2 separate regions of the Homo sapiens genome follow, and region 2 is linked to region 1. The links are contacts of gene promoters, found by promoter capture Hi-C in blood cells and fetal thymus (Javierre and others, 2016). All regions are on one chromosome and are shown on one strand. The core of a region is centred on a gene start or on the middle of the fragment in contact, and the rest is flanking DNA. Distances in the headings are between cores, read along the strand shown.

What was found. Contacts are between HindIII fragments. The CHiCAGO score rates a contact against its expected background, and 5 or more counts as called.
Region 2: a contact is called between a fragment that was not itself captured here and the fragment with the promoter of BTNL9 in region 1, in 1 of 17 cell types (monocytes). The highest score is 5.0, in monocytes.

Annotation. Positions count from the first base shown.
Region 1 is chr5:181,038,032-181,042,831 of GRCh38, reverse strand. It overlaps BTNL9 (butyrophilin like 9), which reads right to left and starts at 2,566. Exons shown (of 11, transcript NM_152547.5): 1 at 2,400-2,566. The HindIII fragment of the contact is 10,345 bases long and covers 1-3,900 here.
Region 2 is chr5:180,703,427-180,708,226 of GRCh38, reverse strand. No RefSeq gene overlaps it. Among named protein-coding and RNA genes, the nearest start is that of LINC02222, 22 kb to the right of the region's middle. The HindIII fragment of the contact is 7,706 bases long and covers 1-4,800 here.

The sequences.
Region 1 (4,800 bases), core at 1,317-3,816:
ATCACACAGAGGCACTGAAGAAGCGACCGGCTCACACGGTGCCAGCCACAAAACCAGCCAACCAGCCAACTAATGAATACAAAATTTAAAATCCCGCTGCCAGATAAAACAACTTAAAGCTGAGGTCTCCCTAAGACTTTGTCAAGAGCATCTTCTGAGCCAGGAGGAACAGGTACCTGGTCCCTTTGCTCCCAACACTCAAGGGTATCATCTTGAAAGCCTTTAGCAGAGAGAGATGGTCTGGCAGCTTCCTGAAGGGAAAAGTCAGCGGCTCCTGGACAGCACCCTCCTCCCCGTTTGCTGCTGTGCGTCCGCCCTTTCTGACCTCACTCTTCAGTTAAGGATCCAGGGTGCTCAATCCTTACTTGAAGCGTAAGTCCCCTCCTCGAAGGAAACACTTTCCACCCTCTGCTATTTTGATTACAGTGTAAATTGATTTCAGGTTGTTCCTGGTGAGGAGGTTTTGCCTGGGGAAGGAGTAAGGGACTGGACGCGTCGGATATTTGGGGAAGAAGGAAAACCCAGTGTGCGCAAGGACCACAAAGGGGTCCTCCAGCTGGAGCTGAGCTCTGCCGGCGGGCACGTGCTGCTTGTCCTCCCAGGAGCCTTGGGCTGCTCCCTCCGGAAGGCACAGGGAGAAATAAGGGGTCCTGAGAAATGTCACTGCCTGCACCCAGCAAAAGCCCATTTCTTTCTTCTCCTTCTCTTTTTATTTTTCTTTTCTTCTTGCTCTCTCATTGCCCCCAGCCCGCCCCACTCCTGTTCTCTCCTCCTGCACCTGCAATTCCTAAACAACCCTGATGTTTTTCTGATTTCCGGTCCCTCCGTCGAGTCTGTCTTTAAAGATGAGTACTTTTTGCTTTGCTACTGTTATTTTTTTAGATAATTTATTGTTAAATAAAGAATTTTAAAGCAAAATGCAGTGGGACAGATGTCAAAGGCAAGTTGAAAACATAATTTCTGTCAAATACTATTCTGGATTTCCTAAGGTTAGGCACAAGAAAAGCATCAAATGAAAAGGTACTTACTCAAACTAAGTCTTTTTAAAAAGTCTGTATTTGAAAGGAAAACAACTTTTCACTAAAAATATAAATCATTCTTATTACAGGAAAACCATAATTTAAGAGACTGAGAAAAGTTTTTGATTCACAAATAAATGGCATCTCCCTAATACACTTAGGACTGTTTGTTTTTAATCAGTGACTCTTAAAAATCACTGCTTCCACCTGACAAACTCAGGCGAATCACTATGGATTGGTGTCCTCTGAGCCACCCTGAAGCATCCCATTTTCTCTACACATGTCCTTTTCTCCAACTTTCAGCAAAGCAAGAATGGAGAAAAAGAGGATTAGAAGGAACTTCAGTTGGTTCCCTGGTGAATAACTTAACAAAATAAAACCTGCTTTTCCATTTGTATTACACATTCACAATCTCTCACTCTTACTTACTCTATTGGTGAATTTCAGATTCTGTCCACACATATAATTATTTGCCTGAACTTAACACTATCTTCCTGACAAATAGTAAATCTCCCAAGGACATCTCCGAACCTGGCAGTGTCCACAGGCCACGTCCTCCCACAGGAGTCCCTCGCCTGCTATGCAGCTGTTGGCGTCCTGAGCGATCCCAGTGTTTCCATGGGGGCAGAGCAAAACCTTGGGGATTCTCTAACATAATTTTAAGACTACATTTCACACTTAAATGACCACGTTATGAAACCTGGCAGGAAAATCCATGTTATTAATAAATGCCATGTCTCTTGCTCTCCCAAACACAGGAAGTATTTTTTGCTCTGCATATGTCTGCGGAGACTGTGGGGTCCCAGAGTGGAAAACTTCTCTAGTAACAAAGTACAGAAATTATCCCTGAAGTATAGTCTTTGCTTTGCTACTTCTGTAAGCTGTGTAACTGGTGAATTTTGCCTGTCTCCTGTCCTCCACTCCCCAAGCTGCAAGTCCGCAGGTGTCAGTGGGGCCTTGGCCCTCTCCCACGGGCCTCCCCGACACCCCCTGCAATGCCCTTCCCCCCGGCAGACCCCAGCTAGTGCTCACTGCCTGCGCTGGTTTGATTTCGATAGGTCCACAAGAGGATTTCCACCCTCTTAGTCTCTAAGGAAGATGGACTGCCCCAAGAAGGGAACCGCAATGAGGCTTGAAATCTTTTTCGTCTGGTGGGGGCAATGGGATGTATCAGGATCCTGCCTCCTGAGATGCGGCCCACCTAAACGGGCGTGGACATCTCCTCTTGGCCACACTCGAAACATCCCATGCTGCGGCCAAGCTCGGATAATAAAATGGTGCCACTAATTGTACGCCTTCCCAAAGCCTCCCACCTTCATTTTCTGATTGCCGTTTCTGAAAGATGGAGGTGTAGGCAGCTGTTGAGAATGAGCCACTTACCTGGCAGGTAGCAGCAAAAGGTCTGAAATGGCAGATGAGTCCTGGTGAGCTCACCTCCTCTGCAAAGGGTGATGATTGCTGTAAAGTGTCTTGGTCCCAGATGCTAAGATTCCCTAGACGTGGACTGGCAGCTGAGCTCCAGAGGCCAGGGCACGTGTGACAGAATTATTTATCCATCTTCCACCCTAAGATATATGCCGTTTGCTCTGCCCTTGGCTATGGAAACCAAGATGGATAGAACAAAACAAGGAAGTCGTCACATCCTGTCTCTGAGAAAAATCTTGAATTCCCATGTAAAATATCTCTCCAGGGTCACAGAAGGAGGGGAAAGGTATCTGAGAGCTTTGTAGAGAGCGACAGCTGCAGAGGCTCAAAGTGAGGAGAAAACGCTCCAGCTGGGTTCAGGGTCTTTGTGCCAGTGAAGCTCGGACTCCAAGGAGGCAGGGTAGCAGTCCCCGAACAGTGAAAGAGAGTAGACTGCAGTCTCCACTAACTAACCACGAGGAAGGGGCTGATGACCAATTTTTAACCCACCATAACCTTCTCCTCAGGACAAGGTCAGTAAGGAACAAATCCTGGGGGCATTGTCGTGAGGCAACCTGCAAAACCTGTTCACGTGCAACTTAGAAATGCAGGAGGGTGCTGGATTGGGATTTCTCTAGTGGAGAAGAGGTCAGAAAAGAAGCAGCAAGCACTACCCCAGCCCAGCCCACCCCATCTTACTGTAGGCCATGGTGCAACTTGGGCATTAGCGGACTGAGGCACCAGCCACCCAGCTGCAGCCCACACTGACGTCCCCTCCAGGGAACAGGCCAGAGCTGAGGCACGAGCAGCTCAAGCACATGCAGTGTTGTGGGAAACTGAGGACCGGAGAGACCGATGTGAAGAACAGGAGGATTGTTTATTTTAGGTACACACCGGCTCAGTGGACTCACATCCAAAAAGCTGAGCATTAAACAAAGACAGAGCGGGGTTTTTGTAAGTGGACTTACAATAAATAAAACAAAAGCAGCTAATCATGATAGGTCACATAATCTATAGCATAGCATAACTTGTGGCCTTGCACAGCGGGTGACTTTGTAGCTGCATTGAAAGAAAAACAAGAACTGGCTAAGTACAGACATTTGTAAAACACAATCATGCTTAAGAAGCCTGGGAAAACAGTAACAGTAAAAGAATTTGTCTTTCTCTCTTTTTCCTTCAACCTTGCTCTGGAAGTGGGGCGGCGGGTATCTGGAGCCCATTCCTTTGGCCTTGGCTTTCTGGACACTGTTATAACTGTCCTTGCAGTGGGCTTGCTATAGGCAGAGGAAAACTTGTCCTTTACTTTTTAACCCTTGCCTTGCCTGTTACTTTTCTTGGAGTGAATGAAGGCATATGTATTTTTAAATTTTCTGCCTCAGTAGCACACCCCAGGGACTCCCAGAAGTGCCTGTGTTTGTAGAGGGGCCTCTGCAGGTGACAGGGCGCTACATGGGTGGGAGACGGGAGCCAGCAAGCTTCAGGCATGGACCTGGAGGTGACTGTCTGTGCTCAGACAGGCTGGTGAGACTGGGCACCCAGGCTTATTAATGTGAACAGATGTCCCTAGGACAGCAAAAGGGGCTGAACAGTGAGCTCAAACAGTGGGTGCAGTTCCCCGGGCCTGGGGAGACAGAGGAGGGCTCAAGGACAGGGTATACTTAAGATGGATGCTGCATAAACAGTAGGATCAGGGAAGCCATGGGCAGCCCGGGAGGACAGAGCCTGCGAGGACAGACATTCTTCGTGGAGGGAGGTGATTAGCATGTGGGAGGTAGGAAAAGGCTAGGGGTTAGCCAGACCAGTGTGTGGCTCACTAGTGGAAGGGAAGGTTGAACAGAAGTGGATGGGACCACATTGCAGAGGCCCTTGCATGCCACATAGGGAAGTGAAAGAGAAGGAAAATTGCACTTGTAGAGAGGGGCTGCTCGAAAACGAGAACATGGCCTAAACTTTTCATTGCCCTTAGGTTGGATTCCTCCATGCTGCCTGGGGAGAGGTGAGATTGTCACAGCAGAAATGCAAAGAGAGAGAGAAATGGGCAGAGTCCACTTCTGTGGCTCCTAGACACAGCCCTGGTGGGATGTGGGAGGGGGACCCCACCTGCCACCACCGCCTGCATATCAGGCGCATCATGCAGTAGGAAAGATGTAGACAGCGGCTGTCCCTGCCAGCCGAACCTCCCATTCCAAGACCCAGTAAATGCATAAAGGCTCAGATCCAAAATGAAGGTAGGTGCTGAACCCCTGGCGGACTATAGGTGCCACTGGAGAGAATGGACCCTCATCTGTCCTTGTGTGGGATTTTTGGGTGTCAATTTTCTTCCCAGAAACCTCTGTGGCACCTGAGTTCTTGTCCTGCCTCCAGGAAGAATGAGGTC
Region 2 (4,800 bases), core at 1,203-3,702, 330 kb after region 1:
AATTCTCTGGAGGCCCCCATCGTCTTTTTTTTACATCTCCCTCATCCCCAGGGCTCATCCATTTCTGATAGTAATTAACCACAGGAGGCTGAAGCCCAGGGGATGTCAAAATAAGGCAGAGTCTTGTGCAGCCAACATTATCCTGTTGCTTTCTCTATGTCCTTGGGTAAAATAAAAGCAGTTTGCCAACCTGAGCTCAACTCTTTTGCCTGGAGCAGGAACTCCCAGTCACCAGGTAGGATCAAAACCTTCTATTTCTTTGCTGTAAGTTCTGCATTGGGTTCTGGTCCCCTTTGGGGTACTGATGATGCTGTGTGTGAGCATGAGAGAGACTTCGTATGCTCACACACAGCATATAAAGGACGTTTAAGTGTAGGATGAAGTTCTGATGACCAATGGAACTGCTATAAGAAAAGAAAAGCACAGCAACATCACTTCCAGTCTGTCGTAGAAAAATGAAAGGCTTTACATAATCAATCGGTTATAGCATTTTTATTCACAATCATGTTATTATTCAAGCCTAGTGCCCCTATTTTGTTTCTTTATTTTTTATTTTTTTCTGTAGGAGTCTCCCTCTTCCGCCCAGGCTGGAGTGCAGTGGCATGATCTCCACTCACAACAACCTCCGCCTCCTGGGTTCAAGTGATTCTCCTTCCTCAGCCTCCCGAGTAGCTGGGATTACAGGCGCCTGCCACCAGGCCCGGCTAACTTTTGAATTTTATAGTAGAGATGGGATTTCACTATGTTGGCCAGGCTGGTCTCAAGCTCCCGACCTCAAGTAATCTGCCCATCTTGGCCTCCCAAAGTGGTGGGATTACAGCCCTGAACCATTGCGCCCGGCCCCATATTTTGTTTTTTTTTTTTTGAGTTGGGGTCTTGCTCTGTCGCCCAGGCTGGAGTGCAGTGGCCCGATCTCGGCTCACTGTAAGCTCTGCCTCCCGGGTTCACGCCATTCTCCTGCCTCAGCCTCCCGAGTAGCTGGGACTACAGGCACCCACCACCGCGCCTGGCTAATTTTTTGTATTTTTTTAGTAGAGACGGGGTTTCACCATGTTAGCCAGGATGGTCTCGATCTCCTGACCTCGTGATCCACCCGCCTCGGCCTCCCAGAGTGCTGGGATTACAGGTGTGAACCACCACGCCCGGCCCCATATTTTGTTCTTAATACTATTCTCTACTAAAGTAAACTCAAAGTCTTTGGAGAGTAGTTAATTCCAGTTTTTTGAGGCTGAAAGAAAATATTTGGACAGCAAGGTATATCCAGTGAAGTTTGTAAGAGAATCAGTGACAGTCCTCAAAAAGCAATGAGCCACCTTAAGGGAATTTCCACTGGCCACGTTGTGATGATTGAGAGTAACGATAATAAAGATAACTCAGGTTAACTGGGACAAGACCCTGAGTTCATAATGATACTGAGTTCATAAAGATACTCAGGTTTATAGAAAGCATCAGAAGTGTAGTGTAATCCAAAGGAAGGGTGGATTTCAAATGACATGTTTAACTTTTCAAATTGATTTTAATAAGCAAGAATGTGTTTTTCCTCACATATATATAGATACAGTATACACACATGTGCAGGTACTTTGTTACTTCTGTTAAGTAGATGTTTTTTAGAAATATAATATGTATATCACCACCTATATGAGCTGGAAAGATAAAGCAAAACAAGGAAACGCAAAAGCCAAGTTAATGGGTACAAAAAATAGTTAAAAGAATGAATCAGACCTAGAACTTGACAGCACAACAGGGAGACTAGAGTCAATAATAATTTAATTGCACATTTAAAAATGACTAAAAGACTGCAATCGGATTGTATGTAACACCAAGGATAAATACTTGAAGGGATAGATGCCCCATTTTACTTACATGCTGTGATTATTACGCATTACATTCCTGTAGCAAAACGTCTCATGTACTCCATATATATGTGTGTGTATATATACACACATACACACACACACACACCCCTACTACGTACCCATATCAATTAAAATTTAAAAAACAAAAGTCCTGTGGAAATAAGGAAAAGTATTAACAACAGGAACAACTGATCAGCTCCCGAGATCTTATGTGAACACCAGGTAGAAAGGAAGCGTTGCAGGTAACTTGTGCTCGTGTTCATACAAAAACAAAAATAACTGTAAAAGGAGGGCTCAACTATTCACAACAGCCAAGACATGGCATGAACCCAGGTGTCCATCACCCGTGGACTAGATAAAGAAAATGTGGTACTATACAGCTGTAAAAAAAAAAAACCTGAATGAAATCATGTCCTTTACAGCAACATGGATGGAGATGGAGGATTTTATTCTTAGTGAGCTGACCCGGAAACAGAAAACCAAATGTCTCATGTTCTCGCTGACAAGTGGGAACTAAACGTTGGGTACACAGGGTCATAGAGATGGTAACAATAGACACTGAGGACTACTAGAAGGGGGGAGGCGGGAAGGGGAGAAGTGTTAAAAAACTACCTATTCTTTGGGAGGCCGAGGCGGGTGGATCACAAGGTCAGGAGATCGAGACCATCCTGGCTAACACGGTGAAACCCCGTCTCTACTAAAAATACAAAAACAAAATTAGCCGGGCGTGGTGGTGGGCGCCTGTAGTCCCAGCTACTCAGGAGGCTGAGGCAGGAGAATGGTGTGAACCCGGGAGGCGGAGCTTGCAGTGAGCCGAGATCGCGCCACTGCACTCCAGCCTGAGTGACAGAGCGAGACTCCATTTCAAAAAAACAAAACAAACAAACAAACAAACAAAAAAACCCTACCTATTGAATGCTATGTTCTCTATTTGGGTGATGGGTTCAATAGAAGCCCAAACATCAGCATCACACAATATACCCATGTAACAAACCTGCACGTGTACCTTAAAAGGATGGCTCAGCAGTGTGTTCCAAGAAAATAAATTAGCTACATATCTCCAGAAAAAAGAGCTAGGTGTGCAGACTACCTCATTTATTCTCATTCAGGGAACAAGATGTGTGGCTGTGCTGTCCAATACTTAACAAATTGAAATGTGGCTACTGAGACTGAAAGGGAAATTTAATTTTATTTAATTTAACCTAAGTTAAAAAATTGATTCTCAGTTCAGCTATTGGAAAACAAAGTGTGCTTGGAACAACTTGGATAAGTAAATATATGCTTTGGAGTGTAATTATTATAAAATCTAAATACCGATGAAGTATTGCCAATAAAAAATTAGCATCTGATTTGAAATGTACAATAAGTATAAAATACATGCTAAATTTTGGACAGTATGAAATTAATACCTCATTAATTTTTTGTATTCAAACATGTTGAATTAATAGTTTGGGTATACTGAGTTAAATAAGATATATTGTTAATTTACTTTTTTAACCTTTTAAAATGTGGCTATTAGAAAAATTTTAATGACATACTTTGCTTACATTGTTTCCACTGGGCAGCTCTGTCCTAGATAATCTTACTAATTATAGTGAGTGACTATTGATAAGAAAAACACAGGTTTATAATTAAATCAATAGAACAGATCAATATGTCAACATAACATGACAGTAAGTTAGGTACTTCTGTCCTACTAATGTTAAAAGCATCCCTCATTTCTGGGCAAAAAGCCAGCTCTCTAGGGAAGATAGAGTTGTAGCAGTCACCATGATGTAGCATGTAAACCTTTGTTACAGAAAGAATCTCAGCCTAATCAGTGATCACCAGCTCAGCATTTCCTTGGAGGGCACGTGTATTTTTGTATGCTGACCAAGAGTAGATTGGGCAGGTTCTGGAATATCTGTTGGTCTGAGGCAATCCTGCATTTTCTTTTGATCTAGGAAGACAAACTTGGGAGCAGTAGGAGGATTTTAAAAAGGAATATGGAGAAACAAATTCACGTCCACAGCAATGCATTTTACAATTGGCTTTAGTTTTTACGTAGGGATCAATTTCGGAGAAATTATAATACTCTGTTTTTGCTATCTGTGCTTTCTAAGGTGTTTAAAGTGCATAAAGGAATCTGGATATAGTAAATTTAAGATGTATCCGCTTAGAGAAGAGGCAATTATACAGAAAAGTAGCTGGGGGCGTGGCTCCATAGAGTGAGGGAGGGCTTTTAAAGGTGAGGCAGTGGCATTATCAAAAGGGGGATCACAACACACACGCTGTGGTGGGAGATTACAAACAAATTAGGTCATCCGAAGAGAGAGGTTGTCTTAACTAAGTAACAAAAGAAGGTGCCAAGGAGATAAGCGGGGACTGTATTGTGGAGCTCCGCTGATGCCTTCCCAAGGATTCCTGATGTAGTCAGAGGACAGTGGTCAGAGGTTTTTGATCATAGTGATTACAACACATTTTCCAGGTTTTTTTAATACTTTAAGTTCTGGGATAGATGTGCAGAACGTGCAGGTTTGTTACATAGGAATACACGTGCCATGGTGGTTTGCTGCACCCATCAACCCGTCATCTACATTAGGTGTTTCTCCTAATTCTATCTCCCCCTTGCCCCCAACCCCCTGAGAGGTCCCCGTGTGTGATGTTCCCCTCCCTGTGTCCATGTGATCTCATTGTTCAACTCCCACTTATGAGTGAAAACATGCGGTATTTGGTTTTCTGTTCCTGTGTTAGTTTGGTGAGAATGATGGCTTTCAGCTTCATCCATGTCCCTGCAAAGGACATGAACTCACCCTTTTTATGGCTGCATAGTATTCCATGGTGTATATGTGCCACATTTTCTTTATCCAGTCTATCATTGTTGGACATTTGCATTGATTCCAGGTCTTAGCTATTGTGAATAGTGCTGCAATAAACACACATGTGCATGTGTCTTTATAGC